5 separate regions of the Homo sapiens genome follow, and regions 1, 2, 3 and 5 are each linked to region 4. The links are contacts of gene promoters, found by promoter capture Hi-C in blood cells and fetal thymus (Javierre and others, 2016). All regions are on one chromosome and are shown on one strand. The core of a region is centred on a gene start or on the middle of the fragment in contact, and the rest is flanking DNA. Distances in the headings are between cores, read along the strand shown.

Evidence for each region. The method cuts DNA at HindIII sites, captures the fragments that hold promoters and counts their contacts. A CHiCAGO score of 5 or more calls a contact.
Region 1: a fragment that was not itself captured here is called in contact with the fragment with the promoter of SLC22A12 in region 4 in 2 of 17 cell types (M1 macrophages and M0 macrophages); the score reaches 7.1 in M1 macrophages.
Region 2: a contact is called between a fragment that was not itself captured here and the fragment with the promoter of SLC22A12 in region 4, in 1 of 17 cell types (M0 macrophages). The highest score is 5.4, in M0 macrophages.
Region 3: a contact is called between the fragment with the promoter of RPS6KA4 here and the fragment with the promoter of SLC22A12 in region 4, in 2 of 17 cell types (M0 macrophages and monocytes). The highest score is 7.0, in M0 macrophages.
Region 5: a contact is called between a fragment that was not itself captured here and the fragment with the promoter of SLC22A12 in region 4, in 1 of 17 cell types (M1 macrophages). The highest score is 6.2, in M1 macrophages.

The regions. Positions count from the first base shown.
Region 1 is chr11:64,382,869-64,387,822 of GRCh38, forward strand. LOC124902688 (a long non-coding RNA gene) reads left to right here and starts at 4,239. Exons shown (of 2, transcript XR_007062718.1): 1 at 4,239-4,497. The HindIII fragment of the contact is 775 bases long and covers 1,182-1,956 here.
Region 2 is chr11:64,449,673-64,454,975 of GRCh38, forward strand. LINC02724 (long intergenic non-protein coding RNA 2724) reads left to right here. Exons shown (of 2, transcript NR_073177.1): 2 at 225-1,985. Among named protein-coding and RNA genes, the nearest start is that of LINC02724, 3.3 kb to the left of the region's middle. RefSeq lists a cis regulatory region at 1-132 and a silencer at 1-105. The HindIII fragment of the contact is 3,672 bases long and covers 1,871-5,303 here.
Region 3 is chr11:64,357,765-64,362,882 of GRCh38, forward strand. It overlaps RPS6KA4 (ribosomal protein S6 kinase A4), which reads left to right and starts at 1,398. Exons shown (of 17, transcript NM_003942.3): 1 at 1,398-1,526; 2 at 1,614-1,685; 3 at 2,399-2,617; 4 at 2,713-2,828; 5 at 3,370-3,477; 6 at 3,705-3,785; 7 at 3,878-3,981; 8 at 4,088-4,238. The coding sequence starts at 1,472. RefSeq lists a silencer at 1,184-1,673 and enhancers at 1,423-1,950, 2,684-2,793. The HindIII fragment of the contact is 11,991 bases long and covers 1-5,118 here.
Region 4 is chr11:64,587,802-64,592,515 of GRCh38, forward strand. SLC22A12 (solute carrier family 22 member 12) reads left to right here and starts at 3,419. Exons shown (of 10, transcript NM_144585.4): 1 at 3,419-4,157. The coding sequence starts at 3,756. The HindIII fragment of the contact is 38,603 bases long and covers 1,159-4,714 here.
Region 5 is chr11:64,417,840-64,423,043 of GRCh38, forward strand. It overlaps LOC105369341 (a long non-coding RNA gene), which reads right to left and starts at 2,376. Exons shown (of 4, transcript XR_001748069.2): 1 at 2,298-2,376; 2 at 464-526. It overlaps LOC124902689 (a long non-coding RNA gene), which reads left to right and starts at 297. Exons shown (of 2, transcript XR_007062720.1): 1 at 297-2,783; 2 at 2,893-3,231. The HindIII fragment of the contact is 311 bases long and covers 2,102-2,412 here.

The DNA.
Region 1 (4,954 bases), core at 319-2,818, 210 kb before region 4:
ATCAAACCTCTTCCAGGTCCTCAAATGCATTGTGCTCATCCTTTGCACTTGCTGTTCCCTCTGTGGGGCACGCTTTCCCCTTCTCTTGGCCAGGCTGATGCCATGTCATCCGTCAATGCTCGGATGGCTTTATTTCTCAGAGCAGCCCCTCCTGACCCCTCCACTAGCCTACAAGCCCCGACTCTTTGTGCCGTCAGTAGGCAGCAGTTCCCACCGAAGCAGCCGTCCCTGTGTGTTGCTGTCATTGTCTTTTCTTTTTTTGGAGACAAGGTCTCGCTCTGACGCCCAGGCGGGAGTGCAGTGGCATGATCTCAGCTCATGGCAACCTCCGCCTCCCAGGTTCAAGCGATTCTTCTGCCTCAGTCTCCCAGGTAGCTGGGACTACAGGTGTCCACCACCACGCCCAGCTAATTTTTGTGTTTTTAGTAGAGATGGGGTTTCACCATGTTGGCCAGGCTGGTCTCGAACTCCTAACCTCAGGTGATCCACCCACCTCGGGCTCCCAAAGTGCTGGGATTACAGGCATAAGCTACCACACCTGGCCTGTTGTCATTGTTTAATTATCAGTCTCTCTGCCTGGGATATGAGCATGGCGGGGAGGGACGAGACTGTCCTCATCATTCACCATTGTATCCTTGGTGCCACATCATCCCTGGCACATAGTAGGTACTCTGGCGATGTTTGTTGAGTGAACAAGTGAATATACTTGTAGATTCAGCCATTCCCTAGCAACCCCAGTTAAGCCCCCTGCCTGGGGTCAACCCAGACCATCACTGCTCTCCTCTCCCCATCTAGGTGCTCAGGGTGGGCTGGCCAGGTGTGCAGGGCCCCTTTCTCAGGCTGCCCTGCACATCCCGTGTTTCTCTGGATGCTGCATGTGTCACAACAGCTCTGCCACCTGCAGGCTGTGTGGCCTTGGGCAAGGCACACTCCCTCTCTGAGCCATGGCTTCTTTATTGACTCTTAGATTCAGTTCTGCAGAACCCTGGTGCTCTGAGGAGGTCTCCATGAGCAGGGTAAGGGGAGGCTGGATGGCTGGATAGTCCCTCCGCTTCAACCAGAGTGGCTTTGCTTTGATGTGTTTCTTATGCTGGGGTCAAATATAAGATTCTGTTTGGAAAGGGCTCTGCTGAAAATAGTAGTGACTATATCTCTAAGCTAGAAGATGAAGCGGGTCTCAAAGCTTAGCTTCAGGAGTTTCCCTGAAGGAGTGTGAAACCCATCTCCATCAATTCCTAGCTAAGTGACCTTGGGCAAATTACCGACCCTCTCTGTGCCTTAGTAACCTTATCCACGAAATGAGGCAATAATGTTGGCCGCCTCGTGGCATTGCAAAGATAAGGTCAAGTAATGCATGCCAAGCACTTGGAACACCTCCTAGGCAGAGGGCAGGAGGGCCCCTGGGATGAGTGAGGCATGGAGGTTGTTGCCATTCAAGCCAGGCCGACTCAGGCTGGCTCCCACAGGACGGCGCGTAGGTGCAGGTGTGAAGTGGTCTTTCAGCACATTTTCATGGAAAGAAGCCTTTCCTTTCAGATTCCTGAAAACCTCAGAGCTAAGGACTTTTCAGCGGGAAAGTCAGGGAGGGCAGTTTCCATAAGTGCACCTCACACTGATGCTGGCGTCTGACAGCTTCCCCCATAACACTGGACCGAAGGTGGGCGGGGCGCGGGCCAGCTCTGTGGGTTTGCTCTGGGCGGTTTGAAGACAGCAGTCACCAGGCCAGGGCCTCTGTGACCCCTCCCTCCTGCCTGCTCCCTGCGGTGCCCCCACTCTTTCTGATTCTCCCTGGGGCCTGGGAGACAGTGGGACACCCTGGGATGCCTGAAACTGCAGGTTGAGAGGCAGCCAGGGAGTGGGGTCCTCTGGGAGGAGCCTCAGGCAGGTTTCTGGGCCCCCTGTAACCGGCTGAATCAGAATTTCAGGGAGTGCAGTCTGGGAATCTGCTTTTTAAAAAGCTTCCCAGGGTCATGTGCAGTGACTCATTCCTGTAATCCCAGTACTTTGGGAGGCTGAGGCAGGAGGATTGCTTGAGGCCAGGAGTTCAAAGTTACAGTGCACTATGATTGTACCACTGCACTTCAGCCTGGGTGGCAGAGCAAGACTCTGTCTCAAAAACAACCAAAAAGCAACCTTCCATGGTGTATATTCAAGCTATGGAGCCACAGATCTCATCTCATGAACCTCCTGAACTTTCCTAATGGGGAGACCGAGGCACAGAGGGGAAGGGACTTAGCCAGAGCCACAGGGCTGCCGACTGGCAAAACCAATTCCCGTGATGCCCAGCTGAGGCTTTCTCCCTCCCTGGGCCACACTTGCTGTAATGTGGAATTTTCCATAGGGACACAGATCCAATTTTATACTAGGAGCTCTCAGAAACCAGTATTCTCTGCCAGAATTCCCTGCCATCACCCACTTTAGTGGAAAGCTGGTATTCTACAGAGTAAGGGGTGTCTGCTATGTCCCCCACTCCCACCACACCATTCACAGGTCCTCAGAGCCTCTCTGTGTTATTTTTCCTGCCCAGCGGGGGTCAACAGGTATCTGGCAGGGCCTGCTCACCAACAGATGTCCCTGTAGACCTGTCATAAGGCAGGCTGCCGGGAGCACACTGGACACAGAGGGGAGGTGGGGAGAAGCTGCCTGGGAGCCAGTGAGACCAGGCAGGCACTGACTGCTTAGCGGGGGCAGGCGTTTCTCCACCGAGAGAGTTGCAGATGCCAAACAGACTCTGCAGCTCCGAGCTCTCCAATCTGCCTCAGCGGGGTCTTCCGTGCCCTGCATCTCCCCTGGCTGGGGCTTGGAAGCTCAGCCCGGAAGGTTCTTCTTGCCTGAGTGAGTCAAGTCCAGAGAAAGTGTCCGTGGTTGCCTGTGGAAAGAGGAAGCACTTTCTGGCTATTTCCTTTAATAACAACAAGAGTAGCGATGACGTTGAGCCCATTTATTGAGCCTCATGATGTGCCAGGCCCTGTGCCACACAGGTAGAAGGTCACACATAGGATCCCTGCTGCTGCTGTTGTTAATAGTCATGGCCAATGTTATTACTGAATCCTTCTCTGTACCAGGAGCCAGGCACCGGGCCCAGCACTGTCTATAATTTCCTTTCATGAACAGGTTCTACATTATCATCATCTGCAATTGTTTCCATGTTGTGGATGAAGAAAATGAGGCTTGGAGAGAGAAAGTAAATTGTCCAAGGTCACACAAAGGCATCCACAGGCATTGGCCCTAGAGCCTGGGCCTCCCTACTTGAGAACTAAGCCCTTAACCACAGTGGTTGAGCGGTTATGCTGCCTCTCAAGGTTATCTCCTGCCTAAGAGATATTTCTTTCTAGCAGATGTGTGGTGGTTCGCTTTCCTCTGCAATCCGTTTTAGCTCTCTTTGCCCCAAGGATCTGGTTCTCGCTCCGACTCTGCAGAGCCTAGAGCTCCATAGACGCCAGCCCCGGGCTCTCTTTGCTGGAGGTGGCATGGCAGCTCCATTTGCTGTCTTTGTGAAATAAATCATGTCAGTCATGTGACAGCGCACTGTCCCTCATCATAGCCTAGCTTTCCATTCTGATCCACAACTTGGTACCTCAATGTGAAGACTGTGGTCTGGAATGACAAGATTCCAGAATACAGCCATGAGTCACTTAGCCATGGGGACACGTTCTGAGAAATGCATTGTTAGGTGATTTCATCACTGTGTGAACATCAGAGTGCACTTACACAAACCTGGATGGGTAGCCCGCAACACAGCTAGGCTAGATGGTACAGCTGATTGCTCCCACACCACAAGCCTGTATGGCAGGAAGTGCTGAGTAGCAGAGGCAATTGGAATAGAATGGTATTTGCGTATCTAAATGTATCTAATCATAGAAAAGGTGGCACATTGCACTATGATGATATGATGGCTATGAATGACATCACTAGATGAGAAAAATTTTTCAGCTCCCTTATAATCTTTTATTTTTGTTATTTTTCTTTTCTTTCTTTCTTTCTTTCTTTCCCTCCCTCCCTCCCTCCCTCCCTCCCTCCCTCCCTCCCTCCCTTCCTTCCTTCCTTCCTTCCTTCCTTCCTTTCTTTCAAAAAATAAAAGCATACAGACAACCTCTTGCTATGTTGCCCAGGCTGTAGTCAAACTCCTCGCTTCAAGCAATCCTCCTGCTTTGGCCTCCCAAGTCCCAACCATGTTAGCCAGGCTGGTATCGAACTCCTGGCCTGAAGTGATCTGGCCACCTCAGCTTCCCAAAGTGCCAGGACTATAGGTGTGAGCCACCACACCCAGCCTCCATTATAATCCTATAGGACCACCATGGAATATATGGTCCCACACTGTCCAAAACATCATCATGCAGCCCATGAAATTAAACTGTTTCAAGGAGAAAAGCAAAGAACACAAATGAAAGATGGGTGAGGAGGAATCAATTGTGTGAACACTCAAGAGATGAAGACGCTGAGGTCCCAGTAGACCACCGGCTGTCAGCAGCGGAATATGATAGCAGATTTGTTAAGGTAAGCACCACAAAACAGTGCTGCATCCCAGGTGTAGAATGGGCTGAGAACATCTGACACTTTGCCTCCTCTTTTTTGATGTCATAATCACTGTTGTATTATTCTCCACAAGCATCCAGGAGGGAGATTAGTTTGGGCCCCTATCCTCTTAGTTTTATTAGCTCTGTAGAAAGTATGGCTGGCCAGGTGCAGTGGCTTATGCCTGTAATCCTGGCATTTTGGGAGGCCAAGGTGGGCGGATCGCTTGAGGCCAGGTGTTCCATACCAGCCTGGTTAACATGTGTAATCCTGTCTCTACCAAAAATACAAAAATTAGCCAGGCATAGTGGTGCATGCCTGTAATCCCAGCTACTCTGGAGGCTGAGGCAGGAGAATCACTTGAACTTGGGAGGTGGAGGTTGCAATGAGCCGAGATCGTGCCACTGCACTCCAGCCTGGGCGGAAGAGCGAGACTCTG
Region 2 (5,303 bases), core at 2,457-4,956, 140 kb before region 4:
CAGCCCACGGCTAACTGTACAAAAGACTGTTCCCTCGCCTGCCTCTAGATGGCGATACCTCTGCCCCAGGGCCCCCTGCATATCTGCCAGAGCTGTATTTACCCTGGGACCACGCCTTTACCGAGTCCTTTCTCCTTCCCCGCCCCTCTGCCCTCACATCCTGGGCGGCTTGTCCCAGGATGAGCCCTCCCCTAGTAAATCCCTGTCTTGGGCTCTGTTTTCAGACAGCTGAAGGCAGGGAACAGCAGGAGGGGCCCCAGGAAGCTGGCCCCAAGGACGGGATGCTGCAGGAGGATGCCCCGCTGGCCCCTGGTGACTGGAGCCCGTTGCGGAGGCCCCTGGCACGAGGTGGCAGAGCAGCTGCTCAGGCCTCCGCCTGTGGTCACCTGGGACAGGACTCAGGTGGACGGGGATGCCCGGCTCGTTTAATATCACTGATGTTGAGAGACAGATGGGAAAATAGCCGTGAGAAGGACGTGGAGTGGGGAGGCTGTCACTGAATACTACTGACACTTAGAAGAGGGAAAATGACAAGTTCAGGGCCACGCATCACCAATTTAAAGCAAAGTCAGGATTCCTTGGCAGAATTTAACGAAATGCTTCTCTTCTATAGCCAGGGGTCAGAGGGCAGAAGACAAGGTGCAGGACTCCAGAGAAGGCCAAATTTCCAGCCCAGGGAAGTCCCTTCTCCAAAGTCAGGGCCCCAAAGGGAAGGGTGGGGTCCCTGATATCTGAGATGGACTATCTGAGGAGACACTCTTGAGACATTGAACCCCCAGATTCTCCTGTACCTCCTGGCCTGCAGAAGTGACCCATTGCCTCTGTTGGAAGACAGAGGTCCTCTTTTGCTTAAAGACCATGCAGAAACTAAGGGAAGGGACCTTACAAGATAAGGAGTTCCTCTCTCCAGCATCTGTCCCCACCTCCCCTCCTGACCACCAGGCTCAAAGCTGGATCATATCTCAGCATGACCTGACCAAGGATGTGCTTTGCATGCCAGGGACCAAGAGGGATTAACAAGCAGAGGAGTGGTGGGAGCAAGCCAGCAGGGACCAGCCGGGTCTAGAGAATGTTCCTAGATGTGGACTCTGAAGGTTCTAGATCAAGGGAGGCTGCATAGTAGCTGGAGACTGGAGAGTTAATTAGTACAGAAAGACTCCCTAACCCCTAAAAAGGCCCTGGGAAGATTCTAATATGTTGCTTGGGAGGGTTCTTTTTTTTTGAGACAGAATTTCTCTCTGTCGCCCAGGCTGGAGTACAGTGGTGCGATCTTGGCTCTGCAACCTCCACTTCCCAGGTTCAAGCGATCCTCCTGTCTCAGCCTCCCGAGTACCTGGGATTACAGGCATGCACCACCATGCCCAGATAATGTATTGTTTTTTTTTTTTTTAGTGGAGATGGGATTTTGCCATGTTGGCCAGGCTGGTCTCGAACTCTTGACCTCAAGTGATCTGTCCACCTTGGCCTCCCAAAGTGCTGGGATTACAGGTGTGAGCCACAGTGCCCAGCACTTGAGGCAGTTCTTGAAAGCTTGGAAGAAGTGATAGTGCATAGGCGATGAAGTGGAGATGTCAGAACAGCCCTGGAGGAAGGTATGCAAAGTCTCAGAGAAGTGGACACGCCAGAATGGCTCTTCTATTGTAGGTTGTACAGGAAAACAGTGTGACAAGAGTGATGCCATCTTAAAACCGCCATATGATGATGAATGTTTCACCCCCATATACCAAGCTGCTCTGCAGTAAGCTCTTTAAACAATGCCTGTACCATACATAACCCTTTGTAAAGATGCTTAGCTAACCCCCTCCCCAAGTGGCTATGAGTTTTGCATTAAAATCGGAGATATGGCCACCTGCACATGTTTTACCCTAAAAGCTTGCTACATAAAAGTACTTTCTGCAGGGCAGATGTGGGGATCTACCATTTTGTGGCAGCCCGGAACATCGCTTCTGCTCCTAAGTCCCTATTAAATATTTCTTTACAAGAAACTGGATTTGTCAGCCTCTTTCTTCAGCCTCTCAGCTCCCTCGGCCTTTGCAGGTAGATTTGCACAGACCTGTTCACCACGAAACAGGGTGGAAAACCCACCAGCTGGCCATGTTCTTTGGAAGGTTCCAGCTCTTTACCCAAATGATAAGGCCTGAGCTGTCGAGGAGACATTGGCGTTGCTGAGCAGCCCTGTGAGGGTTGCCCGGGCCTGGCAGGGGTGGGCTGCCATGGATCTGAGCTCTCCCATAGCCACAGGGACAACTGGATTCCCGAGTAGCACAGGTCAAAGGGCAGCACTTAACTGTCTGTCACAAGCAAGGGGGTGAGAGGATCAGAATGGACAGCAGGGTTGGGACAGCCGCGGGGGAGCCTGCCCTGCCCAGCCTATGGAGATGGCTCATAGGACATAGCATTTCCAGGGGGAAGGTGTCTAGGCAGCCGGCAAGGATTTTGTTCAACAAATAGAATGAAAAGCAACCAAGAATCGATGAGCAGAAGTCCAAGGCCGGATGCCCCAACAGAAAGGAATGATCCCCTGCTGTTTCCAAATCTGAACTTGTTCTCAATCTCAGAATCCATCAGTGGAAGAGGGGCAGGTCCCAAGAGGAAGGACCCCGCAGCCATACCATCCCCCAGGACTGTATCGGTTTCCTGGGGCTGCTGTAAAAACCTGCCCCAGACTGGGTGGCTTAAACAATAGAAATGCATTGTCCTGGCCAGGCACGGTGGCTCACGCCTGTAATCCAGCACTTTGGGAGGCCAAGGTGGGCGGATCACAAGGTCAGGAGATCGAGACCATCCTGGCTAACACGGTGAAACCCCGTCTCTACTAAAAATACAAAAAAAAAAAAAATTAGCCAGGCGTGGTGGTGGGCGCCTGCAGTACCAGCTACTCAGGAGGCTGAGGCAGGAGAATGGTGTGAACCTGGAAGGCAGATCTTGTGGTGAGCCAAGATCGTGCCACTGCACTCCAGCCTGGGCGACAGACCGAGGCTCTGTCTCAAAAAAAAAAAAAAAAATGCATTGTCTCCCACAGTTCTGGAGACTGGAAGTCCAAAATTGAGGCATCAGCAGGGCTGGCTCCCTCCGAGGGCCGTGAGGGGTGTCTGCGCTGCCTCTCTTCTAGCTCCCTGGCAGTCTTAGGCGCTCCCTGGTTTAGAGATGCATCACCCCGACCTCTGCCTTCATCTTCCCGTGATGTTCTGCCCATGTGCTTACTTGTCTCTGCGTCCAAATTCTCTCCTTGCCCCACCCATTTTTTGTTTTTTGAGACAGGGTCTCACTCTGTCTACACTCCAGGATGGAGTGCAGTGGCACGATCATGGCTTACTGCAGCCTCGACTTCCTGGGCTCAAGCGATCCTCCCGTCTCAGCCTGCTGAATAGCTGGACTATAGTTGTGCACCACCACGACAGCCTAATTTTAGAAATTTTTAGAGATGGGGTCTTGCTGTGTTGCCCAGGCTGGTCTCAAACTCCTGGCCTCAAGGGATCCTCCCACCTCCAATTTCCCCTTTTTATAAGGACACAGTCGTAATGAATTAGGGCCTATCCTAATAACCTCATCTTAGCTTGATCATCTGCAAAGACTCTATTTCCAAATAAGGTCTCATTCACGGTCCTGGGGATCAGGATTTCCCCAGTACCGGGGGAATGGTGGAGGCATGATCCAACACATAACAGGGAACTTAGCCATTTTCTCCAGCAGCCGTACACTGGGAAGAGGGCATGGCCAGCTCTGGTCCTGTGGGAATTGGGTGGATGGAGTTAGAAAAGCAGGGGATTTATGGAGGTAGTACCTGTGACAGGTAAAGGAGGGGGCAGGAGGGGGCTGGGGACTTTCAGGCTCTGAGGAGGGTCTGACACCTGTGAGAGGAGATGAGGAAGGAAGGAGGATTGGGTAGGAAAAGCCTTGGACTGCAGTGCAGCTTGGAGGGAGTCTGGCCAGCCCAGCAGGGGCTCTGGAACCAAGATTGCTCAAAGAGGAGTCCCACGTTGGGAAGGAATGCCAGGGTCTCCTACCCCTGCTGCAGGTAGGCACTGGCTGGGAGCTGCCTGGGGCAGCATGACCTTGGCTCAAACACTGTCACCCATTGTGGAGGCTGTCAGCTCACTGCCCTGTGGCAAGGGGGTGCTGAGTGGCATCTCCAGGGCTGCCACAAGGGGGTTTCCCAGATCTTTCAGGGACTTTTGGATATAGGGTTCAGATTGACATTGACACCCAGGGACCCAAAGGCTGTCATGTTAACCATAGAGTAAAGATGTAATAGGAACCAGGTAATAAATGGAGTCCTGGCCTAGGTCCATCTCACAATAGGCCTCCGGTGTGTCCAGAGACGTACCATGTGGTCATTCCCCCAGCTCCTGAATGTGTAAATGGAGTAGAAATTCCTGGCAGGTGGGAGAACCTTCATGTTGGTTCCTTGACCTATAGCGTGTGAGCTGTAGCGTTAGGCCCGATGGAAGCCCCTGAAACTGCCTTTCTCCTGCATCCCCCTCCCCACTGCCCCAGAATACGACACAGTCAATATTGCATTTGTGGAGGAAGGACAGAGATTAGTGCCATCTTCAGAGACTTAAGAATGCAGAAGAGGCTGGGCACCGTGGCTCACGCCTGTAATCCCAGCTCTTTGGGAGGCCGAGGCGGGCAGATCATGAGATCAAGATCATCCTGGCTAACACGGTGAAACCCTGTCTCTACTAAAAATACAAAAAAATTAGCTGGGCGTGGTGGCGGGCACCTGTAGTCCCAGCTACTTGGGAGGCTGAGGCAGGAGAATGGCGTGAACCTGGGAGGCGGAGCTTGCAGTGAGCCAAGATCGCGCCACTGTACTCTAGACTGGGCGACAGAGCGAGACTCCGTCTCAAAAAAAAAAAAAAAAGAATGCAGAAGGAGGGTCTTTGTCATAACTCTATTGAGCACACCAGTGTGGCCCCTGCAAAAACCATGTGCATTGATGCATTGTGGCATTATTGGAGAACCACGAATTTAACAGAGTGTTCTCCCCAAGTGTATCTTTTTTTTTTTTTTTTCCAGAGACAGGGTATTGCTGTGTTACCCAGGCTACTGGAGTGCAGCTGCACAATCCTGGGTCACTGCAGCCCTGACCTCCTGGGCTTAATAGATCCTCCTGCCTCAGCCTCCCGAGTAGCTGGGACTACAGGTGTACACTAGCATGCTTGGCTAATTTTTGTATTTTTTGTAGAGATAGCGTCTCCCTACTGAACTCCTGGGCTCAAGTGATTCTCCTGTCTTGTCCTCCCAAAATGCTGGGATTATGGGCATGAGCCACCGTGCCTGGCCCGTGAGTGCATCTT
Region 3 (5,118 bases), core at 148-2,647, 230 kb before region 4:
TGGGCTCAGGGGTGTGGGGCAGTGAAGCCCCTGTTGCCCCGCCCCCACCCTCTCCCAGGGCACTGTCTTCTCTCTGTTCACATCCTCCTCCTACTCATCTCCCCTCCCTCCTTGAGGTTGAGCCCCCTCCCCAGGGAGTTCTCAGCCTGGCGGGGCATCACTTAATGCCAGGGGTTGCCAGGAGAGGTGGGAGGGACGCTGGCTCTCTGACCAGGGCCTCTAGCCTGATGCCTGAGAGGCGGGGCAATTCGGCTGGGGTGCAGGATGTGAGTCAGGGTACCTGGGGCCACCCAGGGGAGGGTGGAGCTGCCCAGGGCTGAGATAAGGCAGCCTGAACTTGGGGGGTGCAGAGCTGGGAGGGACGGTCCGTCCGGCCTCCCAGGTGTGACCTGCAGCAGCTTGAGTTCCTCCTCCTCTCAGCCAGGGCTTCACAGGACAGGGGCGTGGGGTGGACACCCTGGCCTCTCCAGCTGGCAGAGGAGCTGAGAGCCCCTCCCACCGGCCTCAGGGTGTGGGGCCTCATGGCTGTCCCACTCTGCTAGGTGGCCCCATTGGTGGTCAGGAAGGGAAAGGCAGGAAGAAGACGGAGCAGGGGCTCAGGAGGACCAGTCAGCAGGGGCCCTGGGCCTCATGGGGAGAGGGGGCAGCCCCGTGTGGCACTGACATCTCTTCTTGAGGCCTGCTCAGGGCTCTAAGCTGGGTACTGCACCAGGCTAGGAGACAACAGGAGCAGAACACGTGAGGTGCGCATGGCACCTGGTGGGCTCTGCACGGTGACTGGGGGCTGAAGTGCTTCTGCAGGCACCCCCGACAGAAAGCTGGTCAGAAAACTGGCCACTCCTCTCCTTGCCATGGGGTCCCAGGCCGGGCTCCAGCCCCCTCTTGGTGATGAGGCTCCTCCTTGCAAAGGCCAGTCCTCTGGGGAGAGGGGCCCTGCTGGCCACCCCCAGGACGATGGAGTGGGGTGGGCTCCACTGCCTGAGAGTTGGGTGACTTCCAGGATCCAGACCCCCTCTCAGCCTGCCCAGCACCAGGCACCTCGTCCCCCACCTTGGGGCACAGACTCCTAATGTCCTCCAGCCACTGGCTGCAGCCGGCATTCCCGGGCAGATTCCTGGCTTGGGGACTAATGCCCCAGAGGCTCCAGGTTACCCACGGGCTCAGGGATGGCTCCCACGGGGTGTTTCCAGTTCCCGGGAGAGTCGAGTAAGGTCCCGGAGCGCACGGCCCTGAGGCCTGGCCTGGGGGCTCGGGAGACAGGGCGGCCCCAGCCGGCCGCCCACCGGCAGCCCGGCGCTGTCACGTTCCAGCCGCCTGACTCAGGCCGCGCAGGGCGGGGAGCCGGGAGGCGGTGCCGGCGCCCGCCTCGGCCCCGGAGGCGGCACCAGGAAGCGCCCGCCCCGGCCGGAGCCGCCATGTAACCGGCGCCGCCCGGAGCCCGAGCCGCGCGGGCCCCAGCGACCCGCCCGCCATGGGGGACGAGGACGACGATGAGAGCTGCGCCGTGGAGCTGCGGATCACAGAAGGTGGGTGTGGGGCCTGACTGCGGCTGCCCGGGGCAGGCCGGGACGGGTCATGGACCGGCTGGGCTCATTCGCCCCCTGTGCCCACAGCCAACCTGACCGGGCACGAGGAGAAGGTGAGCGTGGAGAACTTCGAGCTGCTCAAGGTGCTGGGCACGGGAGGTGAGGACCCCCATCCACCGGGCAGGCGTCCCAGGCGCGGTGCCCCTGACCTCCTGCCTGCTCACTCTTGGGCCTGGGCCAGGCCACTGAGCAGGCCCCCCACCCTTTCCCGGCACAGCCTGCCTTGCCTGCCCCGCCCTGCCTCGCCAGAGTTTGCATGCCCACTTCCAGGGCACTCCACATTGACATCACTCCTCCCTCCACGGTCCTGTGCGTGCATACCCCCCTGGATTTGCCAACACCCTGGGGAGGGGGACTGGCGCCCCTCTCAAGTGATTTGCATAGCTCCTCCCTTTCTTCCAATATGGGATCCCCCTCCCACATTTTGCAAATGCCCCAGCGCTGGTTTGCGCATCCCTTCCCCAGCCAGGTGCACACCTCTGCCTCCCTTCCTTGCACTGGCATCTTTTCACATCCATCTGATCTCTCGCAGGTTTGCATATGCCCCGCCCCCATGCCTCGCAGCAGGCCCCCTGGAGATGCATGCTCCCCAGCCTGGTTTGCACATCCTTTCCCTGGTTTTGCTGGGCACCCTCCCGGGGTGTGCACACCCTTTCCTTAGAAGGCTCTGCCAGCTTTTTGCACACCTGCCTGTTGCCCCAGCTCCTTCGCCTCATTTGCACACCCTCCTGGGTTGGCATCGCCCCCACCCCCCAAGCCTGCACCAATCTCCCGCTCACAGCCCACCCTCCACCCACTCGCTGCTCCCACAGCCTACGGCAAGGTGTTCCTGGTGCGGAAGGCGGGCGGGCACGACGCGGGGAAGCTGTACGCCATGAAGGTGCTGCGCAAGGCGGCGCTGGTGCAGCGCGCCAAGACGCAAGAGCACACGCGCACCGAGCGCTCGGTGCTGGAGCTGGTGCGCCAGGCGCCCTTCCTGGTCACGCTGCACTACGCTTTCCAGACGGATGCCAAGCTGCACCTCATCCTGGGTGAGCGCACACCACATCCCAACGGGGTTGGGGTGGCTGGGGGCAGGCGAGGCCACCTGACGGGGCTGCTTCCTGACTTCCACTGCACCTCCCAGACTATGTGAGCGGCGGGGAGATGTTCACCCACCTCTACCAGCGCCAGTACTTCAAGGAGGCTGAGGTGCGCGTGTATGGGGGTGAGATCGTGCTGGCCCTGGAACACCTGCACAAGGTGGGTGAAGACCTGGCCGCAGGCTGTTGCTATGGAAACTGGGTCTGTGCCTTGGAAGGAATCTGCACGCAGGGCAGCCTCAGGCTTCCCCCTGGGCTTCCTGGGGGGCCAGTGGTGAGCTGGGTGGGAATTGGAGCTGCTTCCCCTGGACCCCTTGCAGGAAGCCTCAACGTTGCCTGGTGGGGTCCCCTCCCCTGGCACCTCCTCGAAGGGGCTTTCCTCTTTCAGGGAACTCGGGGCTGCGTTCACAGAACTTCCTCAAATGGAAACCTCACGGCCTGGCTCCTAAGGCCTCCTTGAAATGGAGCTCTTCACACAGACTTTCCTCTCTCTGGGACCTTGGGGCCTGATCCACGGGGCCCTCCTTCTTTGTTTTATATCTTAAATGGCCTTTCTTATTCAGTGGCTCTGCCCTGGAGACCCCCTCTACAGGCAGATGACTTTCTCTGGGGGGTCTCCTTATCCTGAGCAGGGCCAGGAGCTGGAGGAGCTGGGGAGGGTTTCGGGGAGGAAGCCTCAGCACCCCTCTTGCTCCTACCAGCTCGGCATCATTTACCGAGACCTGAAACTGGAGAATGTGCTGCTGGACTCCGAGGGCCACATTGTCCTCACGGACTTCGGGCTGAGCAAGGAGTTCCTGACGGAGGAGGTGAGTGGAGGCCACCTCTGCCTGCAGTGCCCCATTCAATCCTTCTCCTTCCTGCCTCTTCCTGCTCTGGGCCTGCATTCTGGGGCTGCAGAAGTGAATAGCTCCAAGAAGTTTCCACAGCTCAGCTCTCCAACCTCACAAGTTGAGCGAGTCTTACTCTGGGCCTTGTGGGGCACTGGGGCACAGGAGAGGTTTCGACATCTAAGCAGGACCTCTTGCCCTCCCAGAAAGAGCGGACCTTCTCCTTCTGTGGCACCATCGAGTACATGGCCCCCGAAATCATCCGTAGCAAGACGGGGCATGGCAAGGTAGGTTGGCAGGGAAGTGGGGCTGGGGGAGGTGGAAAGGTGGGGTGTGAGGCAGGGGAGATGCAGGCCCTCACCCCGGCTCCACCCGGCAGGCTGTGGACTGGTGGAGCCTGGGCATCTTGCTCTTCGAGCTGCTGACGGGGGCCTCGCCCTTCACCCTGGAGGGCGAGAGGAACACGCAGGCTGAGGTGTCTCGGTGAGTAGGGCTGGACGTGGAGGGCGGCCAGAGGGCTGCAGGGCCTGCCTGGGCAGGGCTGTGGGTGGGGGGCTTGCTGCCCCTGACACCCCCCCAATCCTCCCAGACGGATCCTGAAGTGCTCCCCTCCCTTCCCCCCTCGGATCGGGCCCGTGGCGCAGGACCTGCTGCAGCGGCTGCTTTGTAAGGATCCTAAGAAGCGATTGGGCGCGGGGCCCCAGGGGGCACAAGAAGTCCGGAACCATCCCTTCTTCCAGGTGAGGCTGACTCAGGGCCCCATACCTCCTGGTGCATACCCAGGTGGGGCTGCTGTTCCAGGTTGAGGTTGTGCCTGGCCAGTTTCACTTTATTTGGAAATCCCCCCAGAGAAAGAAAGCAAGTGTGTGTCAGCTAGGTTTCTCTTCACATCCATCCCCACTGAAACTTGGCAGATGTGTTCCTGAAAGAAAGGATTCTAGGTTCATTGGCTGTTGGGGCTGTCAGGGATTTGAGAATGGATTGGTCGGTCCTTTCACTGGACAGACCCAGAGAAGGCAGGTGACCTGCCCCCGACGGCACAGTAAATGGTGCCGAGTTGGGAATAGACCTTGGGTCTAGATAGATCTCCTGCTGGTCCAAATCAGTACGGAAACCCACACTTATGGCTTTTAGCACCCACCCAGGCATTTTGTTCTTTGTCCCCGTCCCTGTACAGTCTGTGTGCCTGTCATTCAGATGGACGGTTGATCAGCACACATGGGTGTTTGCTCACTTGTTAGGAGCACACACATGTTAGAGTGCAGTGCAGAGTGAATCTGGCCATGCGAGAATGCACTGACTCAGGGGCTGGGCCTGGCCAGCGTCATCGCCCAGCAGGACTTTGTAACAGTCAATACCTACTGTGTGTCGGCCCTTTGCGGACATGAACTCATTTCACCCTCACAACTACCTGATTCTTATTTTTTAGACGGAGTTTCACTTTGTCTTCTGGGCTGGAGTGCAGTGGCACGATCTCGGCTCAGTGCAACCTCCACCTCAGGGGTTCAAGCGATTTTCCTGCCTCAGCCTCCCAAGTAGCTGGGATTACAGGCACAGGCCACCACGACTGGCTAATTTTTATATTTTTAGTAGAAACGGGGTTTCACCATGTTGGCCGGG
Region 4 (4,714 bases), core at 2,169-4,668:
AAAAAAAAGTGGAGAAAGCTGCATGAGAAGCATTTTTTTGGGAGAGCTCAGCTTTGGCCACACTAAGTGTGAGATGTTTATTAAGCACCTAAGATTAGGCAGTTGGATCAAAATCTAGCATTCCAAGAAGAGGTACAGGCTAAAGATGTGAATGGACCAGATGATAGAGAATATAGAGAAGACCAAGGAGTGAGCTCAGTGGCCTCCAATGTTAACAGTGTGTGGAGAAGAGGAAAACCCAACCAAGAAGATTGAGAACTAGTGAGTCCTGGAGGCCCAGGGAAGAAAGTATTCTCAGATGGAGATCAGAGACAGATGGCTCAAGTAAGATGAGGACTGAAAATGTCATTGAATCTAGCAGCATGGAGGTCATTGGTGACAGCAGAGTGATAGGGGCAAAACCTTGATGGGAATGAATCCAAAAACAAACAAAAAAATGGGAAGACAGAAACTGGAAATGAGTGTCAATAATACTTTCATAGAATTTTGTTGTAAATACAAGCAAAGGTGGGGCAGTCGCTTAAGAAGAAAGAGGGGCTCAAATGGAGGGGGAGTTTTTGGAAGGCTACAGAAAAAAATGGCATATTTGTACATTGGTGGAAATTATCCAGTAGCGAGGGAAAGACAAATGCCAAAGAGAGATGTGAGCAGGCAAAGGGGGGTGGGCTCTAGGCACACAGTGAGGGGTTGGCATGGATGAGAGAGAAACCAAACTGGGTGGAAGGAAGGCAGAATGTGGGGGCACCAAGGCAGGTGAGCTGGTGAGAGAATTAGACTGTTGGCTTCTGATGGCTTCTATTGTTTTAGTGAAATAAGAAAAAAGGTCATCTATTGAGAGAGAGGATAGAAGAGAAGGTGGTAGGTTTGAAGAGAGAAGATGGTATCAAATAACCCCTGGTTTGTGTGTTCAAATATAAGGGTAACAGAAATAAAACGTACAACTGACAGACCAAGACAGTAGAAGAATATAACAAGAAAACTTAATGGATTCAGTAGAAATTAGGAACAAGGAAACCAAGATTTAAAGGGAAAATGTGGTAAACAAGAAAACATACAGTAAGTCCAAACATGTCAATAATTACAATAAATGTGAACAGGTTAAAATCGCTAATTAAAAGGCAGAGGTATTTCTTTTGGATTTTACAAAAGGAAATGTAAAGCTTATTTGGCAGCTCAAGCTGATGAAGCTAAACATATCAGTTACTAAAACAAAGTCTGCACATATTTACACCAAACTGTAAACAGTAGTGTAACTCACTGGTTGATGAGTATATGAGGGATCTTTATTTTCATTTCAATATGTTCTGAATTTTTGAGGAAGTGTGTAAATTATTTCATAATTAGAAAATAAATGAAATTTTTAAAAAAATCATCCATGCACTTCAGCAAGTCTCCATGGAACCTTTATTTGTTGTCCAAATCAGTTCCAAAGAGCCTCTAAAGAAGGGTTCCAGACTACCAGGAGCTCACTGGAAATAAGACCAACTGGACCATAATAGAAGAATGCAGGTCATGGCTGGGTGCCGCAACTCACACCACTTTGGGAGGCCAAGGCAGGCAGATCACCTGAGGTCAGGAGTTTGAGAAGAATGCAGGACAGTGTAAAGATGAGATTCCACTGACAACTCTGAGCCCTAGTTGTAGGCAGGAATAAGTGAAGAGAGCCCGCTGGAGGAGGAGTATTTGGACTGTGCCCATTCCACACAGTATGTGGCCTAAGGGTGAGCCTGGAGACAGCATTCCAGGCTGGAGGTCCAACATAAGCAAGGGTGGGAACTGAGAAAGCATGTACAGGGCATGTGGTGGAAGCAGTGGATGACTCAAGGTGCAGAGCCCAGGGAGGCAAAGAAGTTGGCTTGGTAAGCCATGTGGAGGGGCAGCGGGAAGAGTCGGTGAAGCAAAAAGAAGCAGATGGGAGGGGCATTTATGCCTCAAATGGAGAGTTTTATGCCCAAAGCTCATAAGAGCAAACACCTGGGTTGCCATCACTGCTGCACTGCACATATACGCATGCACACATGTACACACATGCACTTGTGCAAACACATGTGCACACATACACAGACATGTGCACACACCCACATATACATACACTTCTTTTTTTTCTTTTCTTTTTTTTTTTTTTTTTGAGATAAGAGTCTTTCTCTGTCAACCAGGCTGGAGGGCAGTGGTGCAATCTCAGCTTGCTGCAACCTCTGCCTCCTGGGTTCAAGAGATTCTCCTGCCTCAGCCTCCCAAGTAGCTGGAATTACAGCTGTGCACCACGACCATGCTCAGCTAACTTTTGTATTTTTAGTAGAGATGGGTTTTTGCCATGTTGGCCAAGCTGGTCTTGAACTCTTGACCTCAAGTGATCCCCCCACCTCGGCCTCCCAAAGTGCTGGGATTACAGGCATGAGCCACCACGCCCGGCCATGCACACACACTTTTTAACTGCTTTGTGTTCTCTGGCCCTTTCGCCTACAGAATTAGCTATCGAGACCAAGGGGGTTCTCTTGGCCTCGGTCCAGCCTTTCCTGAACCCCACACCCTGCATCAGCACACACTGCTGTCCACTCACCTGCCCTAGTAAGTCACCACTAGCTGTTGTTGACTGGGAGCCCCTTGGCTTTTAAGCAGGATTTGACCCAAGGGCTCGCAGTGCGTGGTGGGTCCAGGGGCAGGAGTTGAGGCAGAAAGACAAGGGCAGGGACAGCTGTGGAGTGGGGGAGGTGGGAGAGAGAAATCCTTAGGAGGCAAAACTAGCCAGGCTTGGCCCCTGGTGGATTTGGGAGGCAGGGAGCAGGAGGCGTGAACCAAGACGCTGGGTTCCAGGCCAGACACTGTGACATGAGAGGCCATAGCTGAGGTGGGGCTCTGCAGGAGGCATAGATTTGGGGAGGGGACAGAGATCTCAGGGTGGCATTGGGCACACCGAACCTGGGGAGTCTGTGGGGTGTCTGTTGATGCTGGGAAGCTCCACCGAGGACTCAGGACAGGGTAACAGCAAAGCGGGCACAGGACGCCAACCACAGCAGGTGAGTGGAGGCAGGAGCCACGGGTGGGGCCAGGCCACACAGCCTGGGAGGCGCAGGGGCTGGGCAGCTGCCAGTGACCCAAGCCCACACAGAGACTTGCACAGCTGCCCCAGCCCCAAATTAGGGGGATCCCCTGGCCCACCTTCTCTTGGCTCAGCCACTCTGGGAGGTGGGCACACAGGGGCACCGAAGGGAGCAGGCAGCCCTGGCATCCCACAGCCGCCAGGAGAAAAACTTAGGCCTCCCCAAGACCTGGCACAGAGCAGGCCGGCCCTGGCCCCCAAGCAGAGGAGGCTGCACCTCCCTCGCGTCTGTGCCTGCCTCAACGCGGGTTAAACTTTGACCAAGGAAATGATTGCTAAACTCGATTCCATAAGTGTCACCGGTCACACTTTAATTCCAGTCTAAAATTAAAGTCTTCAGTCTCCACATTCCCTACTTTCCAAATTCAGCTTTCCCGGGAGGTCTGGAGCAGCTGCCTCTCTGGGGAGATGCTGGAGGTCTCGGAATCACCTCACGCGGCCTCAGGGCCCAGTTGGAGCCACCCCAAGTGACACCAGCAGGCAGATGACCAGAGAGCCTGAGCCTCCGGCCCCGAGTCTGTGAAGCCTAGCCGCTGGGCTGGAGAAGCCACTGTGGGCACCACCGTGGGGGAAACAGGCCCGTTGCCCTGGCCTCTTTGCCCTGGGCCAGCCTTTGTGAAGTGGGCCCCTCTTCTGGGCCCCTTGAGTAGGTTCCATGGCATTTTCTGAACTCCTGGACCTCGTGGGTGGCCTGGGCAGGTTCCAGGTTCTCCAGACGATGGCTCTGATGGTCTCCATCATGTGGCTGTGTACCCAGAGCATGCTGGAGAACTTCTCGGCCGCCGTGCCCAGCCACCGCTGCTGGGCACCCCTCCTGGACAACAGCACGGCTCAGGCCAGCATCCTAGGGAGCTTGAGTCCTGAGGCCCTCCTGGCTATTTCCATCCCGCCGGGCCCCAACCAGAGGCCCCACCAGTGCCGCCGCTTCCGCCAGCCACAGTGGCAGCTCTTGGACCCCAATGCCACGGCCACCAGCTGGAGCGAGGCCGACACGGAGCCGTGTGTGGATGGCTGGGTCTATGACCGCAGCATCTTCACCTCCACAATCGTGGCCAAGGTAGGGCCTCCCCCAGAGCCACTCGAGTCCCACCACCTTGGAGGTCAGTCATGGATCACGGTGGGTCAGACTCAAAGGTCCAGTCCTGGGAGGGACCCACCTCCCCAGGCCCCACTCACTCTCGAGCCTCTCAGCCCCTCGTCAGCCACACACAGGGAAGTGGGCGGCAGGGATCAGTCTACAAATGGGGCCAGCCCAGGCTCTTGGAGGTGCGGGGGGCACCTGGGCGGGCACCTCTAAATGCTGGCACCTGGACACTCACCGGCCTCACCCTGTCCTGGCCCTGCTGACCTGTCAGCCGTGACTCCAGGCAACTCAGCAGCAGGGGGACTCAGTGACAATTCACTGGATTCCCCGAGACCAAAGCACACAGAGTAAGGGATTACCCCAGGCTGCCTCCCAGATGGGGCGCCAGGCAAAGCCAGGCAAGCAGAGAGGGGCAGCTCATCCCAACAAGTGGGAAGAACCTCTTTATAAAGAACAGGAGGGAAGCAACCTCTGGGAGAGGGGTGAGGGTGTCAGCTTGGGTGGCTGCTTCCAAGTGGAGAGACAGGAGA
Region 5 (5,204 bases), core at 1,007-3,506, 170 kb before region 4:
TTGGAAAATGGTATAGTGGTTCCTCAAATAATTAAACATAGAACTACCATATAATCCAGTAATTCCATTTCTGAGTATATACCTAAAACAATGGAAAGCAAGACGTTGAAGAGATTTGTACACCCATGTTCCTAGCAGCATTCTTCACAATAGGCAAGAGGTGGAAACAGTGCAGTTGTCCATTGACAGATGTATTAGTCAGTTTTCATGCTGCTGATAAACACATGCCTTAGATTGGTTAACTTTTTTTTTTTTTTTTTTTTTTTTTGAGATGGAATTTTGCTCTTGTTGCCCAGGCTGGAGTACAACAGCTCAATCTCGGCTCACTGCAACCTCTGCCTCCCGGGTTCAAGCAATTCTCCTGCCTCAGCCTCCTGAGTAGCTGGGATTACAGGTGCCCGCCACCACGCCCAGCTAATTAAGACTGGTTAACTTATAAAGGAAAGAAGTTTAATTGACTCACAGTTCCACATGGCTGGGGAGGCCTCACAATCATGGTGGAAGGCAAGGAGGAGCAAAGTCATGTCTTATGTGGCGGCAAGGAAGAGAGAGAAATGAGAACAAAGCAAAAGGGGTTTCCCCTTATAAAACCATCAGATCTCATGAGACTTATTCAATACCACGAGAACAGCACAGAGGAAACCGCCCCCATGATTCAACTATTTCCTCACTGAGTCCCTCCCGCAAGTGGGAATTATGGGAGCTACAATTCACGATGAGATTTGGGTGGGGACACAGCCAAACCATATCAACAGATGAATGGCTAAGCAAAATGTGGCCTATCCATACAGTGGAATATTGCTCTGCCTTAAAAAGGAAGGAAATTCTGACACATGCTACGCGTGGATAGACATTCAGGATCTCGTGCTAAGTGCAACGAGCCAGTTATGAAAGGACAGATACTGTAGGATTCCACTTATAGGAGGCACCTGGAGTGAGATGCATAGAGTCAGAGAGTGGAATGGTGGGTGCCAGGGGCTGGGGGAGGGGCAAATGGGGGGTTAGTGTGGAGTTCTGGTTGGGAAGATGAAAAAGTTCTGGAGCTGAATGGTGGGGATGGTCACACAACAATGCACTTAATGTCACTGGACTGTATACTTAAGAATGGCTAAAATGATAAATTTTACGATATACATATTTCACCACAATAAAAGTTAAAAAGAATAATTTAGATAAACCCTGGGAAGGTGTTCATCAAGGTTTCCAAAATGCCAGGTGGTCCTGGTCTTAGTCAGGTGTCTGGATGGAGAATGCTGGTGCCCCAACTCCTCCTCCTGTCTGTGCCCACACGCAGTGCTGGGCCGGACACTTGTCTGTCCTGAGGGGAATGTGCAGCCTCTGGGCCTCCCTGGAGAGAACAGGTGAAGGAATGCCTGGGGCTCTCTCTGTGCCCTCCTCGGGAGGAAACGGGACCCAGGCGATCTTGGACAGAAGCAGGGTCCCGAGCAGGGGATCACTAGCTGCTTCCGTCCGTCTCTCTTCGGCCCTCCTGTCTGCCAGCTGCACCTCTGCTCTCTTCCAAGGGGCAGCCCCCACCAGGGGCAGTTGTCCAGCTCTTGTGCCTGGGCCGGCACTGGCAAGTTCATTTCCATGGGCATAAGCAGTCTCCATTCTGGCTTGGCAGCAATAAACCTGGCACTGGATGTTGTCCTGGTCCATACATATGTGCCAATCGGTCCAGACTCCTAGAGCTCAACAAATGGTCCTGTGAGAGCCTGGCGCTGTGTGAGCCCGGGAAGGCAGTGCAGTGCAGTGGCCAGGTCATGTCACCCAGGCTAGGGCTTGGCCTTCTGGGGAGCACAGCGAGGGATGGCCTGCCCTAAGGAAGGCCCTCTCTGAGGTGGGGATGGTTTTCCAGGGTTCCCTGGGCTCCCAGGTGCTCCCTCCTCCCCTGTACCCCACTCTTCCATACCCCGGGGCTCATCCCTTCTCCACTTGGGTCCTTGTTCCACTGAAAATCTCCCCCTACCCTCCCATCTCATGGTTTTCTTCCTCCCCGCTGGCTCTGCCTTCCCTTCAACCAGCACCAATGCCAAAATCAGCACCAGGAGCTGCCATTCATATCGTCTCTACCATATGCCCATTTGAATCCTTATTGACAAGCTTGTGACCTTTGTCAAATTAGTGACCTATCTGAGCCTCAGTTTCCTTTCCTGTAAAATGGGCACATTAATACCTATTTTACAGATGGTTGTGAGATGGGTCGTGCCTGACACCATTTGGCGCTCAGCCAACTCTTGTTTGTTTCGTCGATTCTGCTGGGTTGCCTGGCATTTTGATTTATCTTTAATTCATACCTTTGAATCTGCTGTAAACTTGGCAGCCACATCACCAAGCTCGTTAGATTGCAGGTTGGGAAGCCTAATTAGGTTCTAAGGAGGTTAGAAATCTGTCCTCAGGGACAAGTTCTCAAGCTTTAGAATGTGGACTCATGACGTCATTTTGGTCCCTGGAGGCATTCTTCTCTAGCTGTATGTGGGAAGCTCTGTGTTCCAGGCTGTGAGGCTGCCAGGCAACAAAGTTTCCCAAGTCTCAAGGAGCCATGTTGTGAGTGTTTGACAGCCAGGTCTTGGAAAGGAAGGCCAACATGCCCTGGGCTGATCAGACTCCATCATGTTGACTCCTGGGAGGCACATTTTTGAGAAACAATTAGGAACCAGGAAGCATTCTGAGGAGGAAAGCCAGGATAAAGAAGACTCAGATAAAAAAGTCATCCCACCAGGTCTGGATGCAGTGTGACTGTATCAGTCAGCTTTTGCTGGGTTATGCCAAGTAACAAACAGGTACCAAACTCAGTGGCTTATAATAATTATAATAAAAAGGGTTGTTCTTATTAATGTTGCACATTGCCTGCAGTAGGTGTGAGCCTGTTCTATGTTTTTTTCATTCTAGGATTCAGGCTGAAAGATCAGCTATGAAACTGCTGGTTTTGAGGCACAGGAAAAAGAGTGATGGCAGAACTGAGAAATGACTTTAAAGCCTCTGCTCAGAAGTGGCTTATATCCCTCTGTTCACATTTTATTGGCCACAGAGAATCACATGATCAAATATGTCTTCAGACTTGATGGGCTTAGGGAGATACCATGCTCCCACAGGGAGGGGTGGTAACTATTTGGCCAGCACAGAGTAGATACCAACAGTTATTAAACTGTTTGTTGAATGAATGAATAGATGAATTCTCTGATCCTGGAAGGATTTAAATAAAGAATGGATGACCATTTGTATTACCTATCTATTGCTGCATAACAAATTATTAAAAAACAGTCTGGGTGTGGTGGCTCTCACCTGTAATCCCAGCACTTTGGGAGACTGAGGTGGGAGGATGGCTTGAGCTCAGGAGTTTGAGATGAGCCTGGGCAATGGAGCAAGACCTCATCTCTATTAAAAAAGTTTATTAAAAAACTTAGTGGCTTAAAGCAACAATAAACATTTATTATCTCACATAGTGTCTGTGGGGCAGTAATTCTGGAATGGTTTACTTAGCAGGATGGCTCAGATTTGAGGTTTCTCATGAGATTGTAGCCAAGTTATTGATCAGAGCTGCAGCCATTTATAGGCTCCACTGCCAAAAGGCTCTGATTCCAGGATGAGTCACTGACATAGACGGGGAATTGGGACTGGCTGTTAGCAGGAGGCCTCACTTCCTCACCATGTGGCTTATCCACAGGGCTGCTTGAGTGTCCTCACAATATGGTGGCTGAATTCCTCCAGAGCAAGTAATCCTGGAAAGAACAAGACAGAAGCCACAATGTCTTTAAAGCTTCAGAAGGCACACACTATCATTTCTACAATATCCTACTGGCTACACAGGTCTTCCCTATTCGATGTGGGAAGGGACTAAATAAAGGTGTAAATAGCAGGAGGGGATATCATATGGGGCCATGTAGGAGGCAGTCTATCATAGCTCACCCTCTGGCCCCCAATAAATTATATCCTTTCCACATGTAAATACTCTTACCTCCTCCCACAGCCTCCAAAATTCTCATCTTATTAAAGCTCAAAGTCCAGAATCTCATCATCTAAATCAGGTTCAGATGAGGCTTCTAGGGTAAGGCTCCTCAAGTACAGCTCTTGAGAATAGTTTTGCTTGATCTGAAGACATGTGAACTAAAGAGGCAGTTATCTGTATCTCTGTATCTCTGTACCCTGCAACATACAACAGTGTGAGAAGCATAAGATAACCATTATAGACATTCCCAATTCGAGAAGAGAGGCACATAGAGCTGTTTGTGGTGGTGTGTGCCTGTAGACCCAGCTACTCGAGAGGCAGAGGCAGGAGGACCACTTAAGTCCAGGAGTTCAAGGCCAGCCTGGGCAACATAGTGAGGCCCTGTTTAGAAAAAAAATAAAAGGAGGCACACAGGAGTCACTAGCACATAGCAATTCTTAAATCTAGCAGACCACACATTGGAAGTTACTACACTAGGACTTCAGGGCTGGAAATAATTCTCCTTGGCTCTTGGCTCTGCCCTAGGGACTGTTGGCTTTGTCTGGGGGCTGAGTCACCTTTTCTTTTTCATGAAAGGTGGCTTATCTTAGCAGATGATTGGTTTTCTTAGCTTTCTTCTTACCTATAGAAAAGAAGTCCAAAGTCTTCTTTTTATTTTGTATTGTGTCTGTTTCTTTCAGTCCAAACTAGCAGTGCTTCTGCCAATACAATTCTTGTAAAGCCCTTTTGGGTCCCCTATGAATCTTTTTGAGGTTTGCTCTATTTAACAAGTCTCTTTGAGATAAGCCTGTCTCTACCTTGGCATTCTGCTGACACTGCTGAGGAATATCTTTAAACTTCTTAGGAACCTTATTATGAATGATTCTCTGAAGCACCCTTTACATTTTCTGAAGATATAATACAAGAGCTTATAATCACTCCTCTAGCTTCATCATTAGACTATGTTTTCCTGATATTGTCCTGGATTTGATCTTTTCCCAGAAACTATTTCTTAAATTTAGCATTGTTTGCCATCTGTAGAAAATGGGAATTTTCAGAACCAGAAAGTCCTGGCACCTTCATGTTGAACAGTTCTTCCTTTAGCTTATTTCTCTCCTATCTCATTTTACTAAAACAGGCAAGAAGAAGTGAAGTGGCACTTCCAATACTCTGCCTGGAAATCTCCCTAACAAGATCACCTAGCCCATTAAGTACATTTTCTACTTTCCACATTACTACAGATAACAGTGCTGCTAAACTTTCAGACACTATAACA